Linked DNA regions of Homo sapiens: region 2 is linked to region 1. The links are contacts of gene promoters, found by promoter capture Hi-C in human tissues and cell types (Jung and others, 2019). All regions are on one chromosome and are shown on one strand. The core of a region is centred on a gene start or on the middle of the fragment in contact, and the rest is flanking DNA. Distances in the headings are between cores, read along the strand shown. Region 1 holds the start of ZNF266 (zinc finger protein 266). Region 2 holds the start of ZNF560 (zinc finger protein 560).

What was found. Contacts are between HindIII fragments. The study calls those that stand out against the background at their distance.
Region 2: the fragment with the promoter of ZNF560 here is called in contact with the fragment with the promoter of ZNF266 in region 1 in 2 of the 25 tissues and cell types used here (adrenal gland and thymus).

The regions. Positions count from the first base shown.
Region 1 is chr19:9,432,776-9,437,826 of GRCh38, reverse strand. It overlaps ZNF266 (zinc finger protein 266), which reads left to right and starts at 2,254. Exons shown (of 11, transcript NM_001370374.1): 1 at 2,254-2,543; 2 at 2,634-2,719; 3 at 2,968-3,029; 4 at 3,592-3,752; 5 at 4,041-4,159. LOC105372269 (a long non-coding RNA gene) reads right to left here and starts at 2,186. Exons shown (of 3, transcript XR_007067133.1): 1 at 2,055-2,186. RefSeq lists an enhancer at 2,334-2,463. The HindIII fragment of the contact is 27,667 bases long and covers 1-5,051 here.
Region 2 is chr19:9,496,847-9,501,810 of GRCh38, reverse strand. ZNF560 (zinc finger protein 560) reads left to right here and starts at 3,195. Exons shown (of 10, transcript NM_152476.3): 1 at 3,195-3,273; 2 at 3,596-3,683. The HindIII fragment of the contact is 15,358 bases long and covers 1-4,964 here.

The DNA.
Region 1 (5,051 bases), core at 1,005-3,504:
TACTTAAGCCCAGGAGTTCGAGATCAGCCTTGCAACATAGTGAGACCCTGTCTATACAAAAATAAAAATAAATTGTATGAGTATATCCATATGAAATGTCTACAAAAGAAAAATCTGTAGTGATAAAGTAGGTTTGTGGTTCCCTGGAGCTTAAAGAGGAGGTAAATGGGTTTTCCCATTCAAAGATTTCTTTTAGTGTGATTAAAATGTTCCAAAATTATGTTTGAACAACACTGCGAATGTACTAAAAAATATTGAATTATATAGCTTTAAGTGGGTGAACTGTGTTGGTTATATGTGAATTGTATCTCAATACAGCTGGTCTAAAAACCAAAAGGGAAAAATCACAATAATAGCCACATCATTGGGAGCGTAAAAATTTAATGTCTATTAAGCATTTAGGGTAGTAAGATTTAAAAAACAGCTACCGCCAGGTGCGGTGGCTCACACCAGCACTTTCAGAGGCTGAGGTGGGCAGATCACCTGAGGTTAGGAGTTTGAGACCACCCTGGCCAACATGGCGAAACCCCATCTCTACTAAAAAAAAAAAAAAAAAAAAATACAAAAATTAGCTGAGCGTGGTGGCGCGTGCCTATAATCCCAGCTACTCAGGAGACTGAGAAAGGAGAATCCCTAGAACTCAGGAGGTGGAGGTTGCAGTGAGCCGAGATCGTACCACTGTATTCCAGCCTGGGTGACAGAGCAAGACTGTCTCAAAAACAAACAAACAAAAAAGCTACCATTATTATTATTATTACCACGGAATATTATTAGTTGATACAAAACCACTGGAATGAAAAGATTATGATCTTGATATTGGCATAAGTAAATGTATTACTGGCATAGAGTCTAGAATCAGATACAGGTATACATAGGAATTTATAGTTTAATAAACATGGAATTTGAAATCAGTAAATCAAGGACAGTTTATCAATATGTGGTACTACAATAATTGGCCGTGTTTCTGGAGGAAAGAGATATTGTATCCACTATCCCACACCACATACTGAAACACATTCCATGAGTATGAAAGATTTCAATGTTTTTAAAGTAATATGCTGCAGAAGAAAATTAGGAAATCTATATGTAATCTAGAGTTTATGAAGACTTCTTAATGCAAGAGAGGAAACTTAAAAAAGAAAATCTTTTTGAGTTGAAAAATTAACTGCAAAATAGTTACCAGTTCAGTAGATTCACAAAATATTTGATAATGTACATGAACAGTTCTTCATGTTAGTAAAACAGTGTTCAAAATAACTTTATTAACTCCATAAAGGCCACCCACTACAAAGCACAGCAAAAACGATTTCTGGAGAAACTAGAATCACTCCTGCAGAAGTGAATGCCTGATATCAGTGCTATTTTACAACGCGGTATTTTACAACGAGGCCCTGGAACTCACTGTAAGATCTCAGAAAACAATATATTAGTCAAAGAAAAAAAAATCAACATTTACAAAAAGTATCAGCATATTGAATACACAAAGGAATCAACTATTAGAATTTAGCATGGCGTCCAGATAAATGAAATAAGGGGAAATATTGGCCTCAAGTTGAATTGGGCCCGGCGCCGTGGTGCACGCCTGTAATCCCAGCCTTTTGGGAGGCTGAGGCGGGATGATTGTTGGAGCCCAGGAGTTTGAGATCAGCCTGGGTAACATACCTCAACTCTGGGGGAAAAAAAATTAGCCGGGCATGGTGGCCTGCGCCTGTAGACCCAGCTACTCGGGAGGCTGAGGCGGGATGATGGCGTGAGCCCATGAGTTTCGCCCCACAGCACGCCAGCCTGGACTACACAGTGAGACCCTGTCTCAAACAAAAACAAAATAAAAAACTAAAACTAGATTGAATGAATGGAGGAGATAGGCCATATCATGGACTGGCAGGATTATCAAAGGAAGCATCATTTTGAGGGTGCTAGGAACGTGGGAGGAGGTGAGAATAAAAGCTTTTTGTGAGCATTGTGCACATCCTGTGGGGGAGCCCCCACCTCTAACTTTGCCAACACCACCGACCCCACCCTAGGTTAGCCCCGTCCGCAGGGCTGGTTCTAACCTCAGCCTTGTGCTCTGGGCCCCTTTTGGCCTCCATCCCTCAAGGTGAGCAGACTCCAAGGCCTCCAAGGCGTCTCCGTAGCCACTGGGGAGTAAACCAGAATCTCTCTGCCTGAGGTTGTTCAGCTCGGCTGAGGTTGCAGTTCCCGAGCGCTCCTCCAGGTTTGAGGCTGGAGGCGGAAGTGACGTCACGGAGCGCTGCTGTGTTTTCCGGCGCTTTCTCCGCGCCGCCAAACCCGTTTTCTTCCTGGTGGCGTTTGGGCTTAATACAGCTTTGGCGAGGTCGGATGACGGGTGGGAGCCAGCGGTGGAAGGGGTGGCGAAAGTACCGGTTTGCCCCAGGCCGCCGAGGGGCCTCCTTAGAGAGACCTTGCCTGCTCCGCTCGCGTCCGCCGGGGCCGCGCGGGTCCTCCTGGCGCCGCCAGGTTCAAAAAGCCACTCGAGTTGTCACTGCGACGGCCCTGGGCCAGGAGCCGTTTCGGGATCTGTCGTAAGGGCGCTTCCTCACGATTTTTGCAAACACGGTGATTGCCGCTTCAAACTCTTCCAAAGCAATTCTTTGTGACTTTTTTTTTTCCAGAAACAACGAGTTTTCGTCGTTCGAATCAGGTTGACTGGTCCTTCATCCCCCCAATCTCCCGTACCTGGCGAGTCCAGCTCGTCGCGGTGAGTACTGGGGTGAAAGTTGGTTTCGGGGGCTTCTTCCTCCTGTTTTATCTGAGAATTTGTTTTTCTCTTTGCGCATCCTGTATTTACTTTTGACACTCTACATTCAGGTAGAAACATAAAGCTATTTTTTAGGTATCTGGGGTGTGGTTATTTCTCTATGTGAATATAAACGTTTGTAGACCAGAAGTCTTTCTACTGAAGAAAAGCAAGAATACTCAGCTATTCTTTTTATCTGAACTTCCTAGGCCTGTACCTCCCCACAGAGCTTCAAAACGGGCTTTTAGGAAGAAGGAATGGAGGCTTTGAAGTAAGTTGAACATTGCAGGCGTGACACTTAAGGTTTAAATGCTTGGTAATACGTGTCCTGTGGATAAAGACATGTCCTTTTAAAACCATAATACTATTACCCCAGAAAATTTAAAATGTTGTTAATATGTACCCTGTGTAAAAAGGTACAGTTCTCCACTTTGTTCCAATATATGGTTTTGATTGTTTTGGGATCTATTACGTATCCAAGTTTCATGTCTTTTAGTCTCTTTAAAACTAGCAGACACTGTTTATCCGTTATATTGTCTTTTTGCGCAGTCACTCGTTCTTTCAGAAAGTTATACATTTTGGTAGTTCTGATTGTATTCTGTGCCGTGTTTAAATGTATCCTTCATTTATTGGTGTATCCTGTAAATGGATGAGTGTCTGAATGGTTAATTAAGGCATAGTAAAAAAATTCAGCCTAGGGCTGTTCTTAGGGAGGTTGTAAACTAGTGGAGGAGGCTGTCATGTAACCAAGCAAATAAGTGTATTACAAATTGATGAAGGTCTGTAAGTAAAGTAGAGGACAGAATTATTTTCTCTATTTTTCTTTGGAATAGGCAATGCTAAGAAAAGAGTGATATGCAAGCTGAGACCAAAAATATGGTATGATTTAGCCATACTGAAGGGGAAGGAAATAAGAGCTGGGCAAAGCATTCTGTGAATTGGCTGACTCCACTTCTATGGTGAGAGAGAGGAGTGCATCAAAGATTACTCCCAGGTTTGACAGAGTCAGTATTCTTTCTTTGGTTGGGGAAACAATGTGGTGGGATAATTTAATCTTAAATGTATGACAGGAAATAGTAAGTGATATCTTTTGGGAGACAGAGTTTCGCTGTTGCCAGGCTCCAGTGCAGTGGCAGGATCTCGGCTCACTGAAACACTGTAACCTCCACCTCTTGGGTTTTCAAGCCATCCTCCTGCCTCAGCCACCCTAGTAGCTGGGATTACAAGTGTGCGCCACCATGCCTGGCTAATTTTTGTATTTTTGTATTTTTTTTTTTTTTAGTAGAGATGGTTTCAGCATGTTGGCCAGTCTGGTCTCAGACTCCTGACCTCAAGTGATCCACCCACCTCGGCCTCCCAAAATGCTGGGATTACAGGTATAAGCCACTGTGCCTGGCCAAAGTAAGTGATATCTGACAAATGATGTAAATCAAGGGAAAATAGGAGAAGCATGAATGTGTTTTAATTACATGAATAAGAAATTAATTCAAGGGATTAATGAGAATCAGTGCTTGATCACTGAAAAATAAGCTCTCCATGAAAATTCACTGATGTTAATTATTAGTCTTAGGAAATATGTATATTCATAAACAGACAAAACTTCTCTCGTTGTTTTTTTCAATTCACTTTTGGGTTCCTTCTCCTACCTAAATTAGTCCTTCGTTTCCCTGAAGGAATGTCCAGAGTAAGCACTCTGCGTGACTCCTTATAGACACTCATACACCTAGGGGGTTGGCTTGATACAATCCATGTAAGTAAATGACCAGAAAACTCACCTGCCAATGTGGGCTGCCAAAAAGCTGTGAAGGGGCCACATGGCCTGGAAATACAACAGATCTTAGAATAATGTCTGTTAATTATAACATCGATGACGGAAAAAAAATCAAATTCCAGTAGGGCCACTCTGTAGATTCTGCACGTTCTTCCCATGTCTGCATGGGTTTTCTCTGGGTACTCTGGTTTCTTCCCACATGCCAAAGATGCACATGTTAGCTTAATTGGTGTGTCTAAATTGTCCCACTATGTGTGTGTGTGCCCTGAGCTGTTAGGATGGGCTCTGGCCATTTTCATTCTGGAACTGGAATAGGTGGATTGGAGAATGAATGAATGAATACAAACTATTGTAAAATAAAAATTCCTAAAACATTTGATAATGATACAACTGTACAACAGTAAATGGTACCACTTAGCAAGCTGGCCCCATTTGTTATTGTTTTTGAGCTTCTTGGTGGTAGGAGGTGGTCCTTAGAGTTTTTGCTTTGGAAGCATTTATTTGTTTTAACCCACCACTGTT
Region 2 (4,964 bases), core at 1,946-4,445, 63 kb before region 1:
AAAATATCTCTTGCTGGGAGTGGTGGCTCATGCCTGTAATCCTAGCACTTTGGGAGGCCCAGGGTGGTCAGATTGCTTGAGCTTAGGAGTTGGAGGCCAGCCTGGGTAACATGGCGAAACCTCATCTCTACAAAAAAAAATACAAAAATTAGCCAGGTGTGGTGGCTCATGCCTGTAATCCCAGCACTTTCGGAGGCTGAGATGGGCGGATCACCTGAAGTCAGGAGTTTGAGACCAGCCTGGCCAACATGGTGAAACCCTGTCTCTACTAAAAATAGAAAAAAATTAGCCAGGTGTGGTGATGCACACCTGTAGTCCCAGCTACTTGAGAGGCTGAGGCAGGAGAATCGCTTGAACCCGGGAGGCGGAGGTTGTGGTGAGCCGAGATCACACCACTGCAATCCAGCCTGGGCAACAAGAGCAACACTCCACACACACACACACACACACACACACACACACACACACACACACACACACACAAAGTAGCCAGGCATGGTGATGCGTCTGTGGTCCTAGCTTCTTGAGAGGCTGAGGTGGGAGGATGGCTTGAGCCTGTGGTGGTCAAGACTGCATTGAGCCAAGATTGTGCCACTGCACTCCAGCCTGGGCAATAGTGTGAGACTCCATCTCAAAAAAAAAAAAAAAAAAAAAGCTAAAGAGAAAGAAATTAGAGACTATCTTTCATGAATATAGATGCAAAAATCCTTAAAAAATATTAGCAAATCATATCCAACAGCACATTAAAAGCACTATACACCATGACTAGTGAGATTTATCTAGGAATGCAAGGTTGGTTCAACAAAAGGAAATTTAAAAAATGTAATTCTTCACATTAGTACAAAAGACAAAAAATCCCACAGAATCACCTCAACTAATGCAGGAAAGGCATTTGATGAAACCCAACACTTTTCCTTGATAAAAATTAAGAAAACTGGCCAGGCGTGGTGGCTCACACCTGTAATCCCAGCACTTTGGGTGGCCAAGGCAGGTGGATCATGAGGTCAGGAGTTGGAGACCAGCCTGGCCAAGCTGGTGAAACCCCGTCTCTACTAAAAATACAAAAAAATTAGCCAGGTGTTGTGGTGGGCACTTGGGAGTGCCCACCTACTTGGGAGGCTGAGGCAGAGAATTGCTTGAACCCGGGAGGTGGAGGTTGCAGTGAGCCAAGATCATGCCACTGCACTCCAGCCTGGGTGACAGAGCGAGATTGTCTCAAAAAAAAAATTAAGAAAACTAGAAACAGAAGGGAGTTTATTCAACGTGACAAAACGCACTTACGAAAACACAGCTAACGTGATATTCAATAGTGAATGCCTGAAAATTCTCCCTAAGACCAGGAAGGAGAGAAAGATGTCTGATTTTTCTATTGTTATTCAACATTCTACAGGAAATTCTTTTTTTTTTTTTTTTTTTGAGATGAAGTTTTGCTCTTGTCACCCAGGCTGGAGTGCAATGGAGCCATCTCCACTCACTGCAAACTCCGTAACCTCCGCCTCCCAGGTTCAAGTGATTCTCCTGCCTCAGCCTCCCGAGTAGCTGGGATTACAGGTGCCAACCACCACGCCTGGCTAATTTTTTGTATCTTTAGTAGAGACGGGGTTTCACCATGTTGGTCAGGCTGGTCTTGAACTCCTGACCTCAGGTGATCCACCCACCTCGGCCTCCCAAAATGTTGGGATTACAGGAGTGAGCCACCGTGCCCAGCCTCTACAGGAAATTCTAGCCAGAGCAATTACACAAGAAAATAAAATAAAAGGTTTCTCAATTAGAATAGAACAAATAAAAATATATTTATAGGTGATATTTGATATATAGAGAATTTTGAAGAATCTACAAGAAAACTAGCAGAGCTTGTAATAAATTCCGTAAAGTTGCACAGTACAACATCAAGAGATGAAAATTAGTTTTGTATCTATACACCAGCAATGAACAATCAGAAAAGGAAACTGAGAATGTGATCCCTTTTACAAATAAGTTACATGGGAATAACTTTACCCCAAGAGGTAAAATATTTGTAAACTGAAAATTTCAAAACATTACTGAAAGAGTTTAAAGAAGACCTAAATAGAGAGATATTGTATATTCACACATAGGAAGACTCAGTATTATAAAGATACCAATATAACCCGAAGATTCAACTAAATCTCTACCACAAGTCCAACAGTCCTTTCTTTTTCTGCACAGAATAAGTGAAGAATGCCTGGTATCAGTGTTATTTCATAAAGTAGTACAGGAGGCTTTGAATCATTTGATAAGATTTGAGAAATAGTAACAAATACATTGTTGAAGAAGAAAAAAAAATACAATAAGGCCAGGCATGGTGCATGATGGCTCACGCCTGTAATCCCACTTCGGGAGTGCAGGGCGGGCAGATCACTTGAGCCCAGGAGTTCCAGACCAGCCTGGGCAACATGGTTAGATCCTGTCTCTACAAAATAATAATAATGATGATAATAATAATAATACAAAAATTAGCCGGGTGCGGTGCGCCCGTGGTCCCAGCTACTCGGGAGGCTGAGGTGGAAGGATGGCTTGAGCCTGGAGAGGTGGAGACTGCAGTGAGCCGTGTTCCTACCACTGCATTCCAGCCTTGGCAACCGAGCCAGACCCTACCTCGAAGAAAAAAAGAAAAGAAAAGAAAAAAGAAAGAAAAGAAAAAAATTGCAATATTTACAGAAAGTATCGATAACTGAAAACGCAGAGGAATCAATGATTAGAGTTTAGCAAGGTCAGATAAATAAAAAGAAATAAGAGAAAATAAAGTTCTAAAGACGTGATCGAATGCAGGAAGCAGGCCATTTTGTGGATTGGCAGGTTATCAACTGGAGAGAATCCTGAAAGGGGTCCAGGAACGTGGGGAAAGTTTCTAATGAGCATCCTGAGGGGCGAGTCCATCGCCCGACGTTTCGCCTTCCTGGTCCATTCTGCCACCGAAGCCACCGGCTGGGTCTGGTCCCACCTCCAGCCCCGCCCCCGGGCATGGGCCCCGCCCACAGCCCTGATTTAACCCCCACCTTTCTCTGTGGGTCCATTTCTCTCTTGCCCACCCAGGCACTGAGCCGACCCCTTGATACCTCCGCACCCACGCGGAGGGAAACTAGAATCCTGAAGAGTTCCATCCTGTCCAACTGCCCACACAACGAGCCACGCCCCTTCCAATGCCCCAAACGGAAGTGACGTTGCGGCGCGCCAGTTCTCTCTTTTGGTCGCTGGCGCCTGTTTCCTCAGAGCCACTTTTTCCTTTGTGTTGTCTGGTCGTTCACTACTTTGGTGAGGCTCGTGTGGACTAGTGGGTTGGGCGGTGTTTCGGGGGGTGGCAGAGGTCACAATCGACCCAGGGTAATCGAGGAACCTCCTTACAGAGGCCTGGACCACTCCACAGGAGTCCGCAGGAGTCGCGGAGCCATCGGGTGAGGCCACGTCGAAGAGGCCATTGGGACCTTCGGTCCCCTAGAGGAGCCGGGTGGGAAGTGCAGTATGGGCGCGTCCGAGGGCTGTTTTCAGCCGTGTGTTCCCGTCTTCAAAAGTGTCCAAGCGTTCTGAGGCCTTAAAAAATAAGTCTCCAAGGCAACGTTTGTGAATTGTGTTTCAGAGGGAAAAGAATTTTGCCGTTCGCGTTCGATTGACTCCGTCCCCAAGATCCTGTAGCCCCACGGACCTGGCGACTCCACCGTGTTCGGGTGAGCATTGGGAAAAAGTTGGTTTAAGGGGGCAGCTGCTTCCTTTTTTATGCAAACGAGTGTTTCATGTGAGATTTTGGCATTTTGCCTTTGTGAAACCTGTATATTTTTTATTGACACATTACGTTCCGGTAGAAAGGTGCTTTCTTAGTTGTCTAGGGTGTGCGTATTTCTGCATGTGCATATAAACGTTTGTAGACCGCGAGTCTTTCTACTAAAGAAACCTAAGAATACTCAGCCATTCTTTTCATCTGAAGTTCCTAGCTCTGTACGTCTCCAAAGAGCTTCATAACCAGGCTTCCTGGAAGAAAGGATGGAGGGTTTACACACTAATACTAGAATAATCGAATTTACCATTAACAGGATGACTGTACTAAGTGTATTTTTCCCGCATTTTTTTTCGAAAAAACTTAAACCTATGGGTATGTTGACCATCCAGTACCACGAATAAATATCCATTGTAGCTGCACCTGTTTTTTAGCGTTTTGTGTATTCGCCGTCTCGTAAATAAATTTTATGGTGAACAGTTTGAGAGTCAATGGGAAATTCATTGCAGAGATGAAGCTCGACATTTTTTTTTTTTTTTTTTTTTTGAGAGGGGGTCTAGCTGTGTCGCCCAGGCTGGAGTGCAGTGGCGCGATCTCGCCTCACTGCAACCTCTGCCTCCCGGGTTCAAGCGATTCTCCTGCCTCAGCTTCCCAAGTGGCTGTAATTACAGGGGTGTGCCACCGTGCCCGGATAATTTTTTGTATTTTTGTAGAGATGGGGTTTCACCGTGATAGCCAGGATGGTAAGCTCGACATTTAAGTAGTGGGTAATGCCTGACTCAATGATAAGAGTGTTGTTTTACTAAAACCGTAATACTATTTGCATCAAGAAAATTAAAAATAATAATGTTATCTAATATTTACTATGTATAATAAATGAAAATTCTCCAAATTCTTCTAAAATATAACGGAATGTTTTTGGATCTGAGCTCTATTCAAGATTTTTTTTTTTTGAGAGTTTTTTTGAGGCAGGATGTTGCCTTGTTGCCCAGGCTGGAGTGCGGTGGCATGATATTGGCTCACTGCAACCACCGCTTACCACGCCCAACTTTGTGTTTCTGTGCCTGGTTTATTTCACTTAACGTACTGTCCTCCAGTTCTATCTACGTTGTTGAAAATGACAGGATTTCATTCTATTTTTTTTTTGAGACACAGTCTCGTTCTGTCGCCAGGGTGGAGTGCAGTGGTGTGATCTCGACTTACTGCAACCTCTGCCTCCCTGGTTCAAGCGATT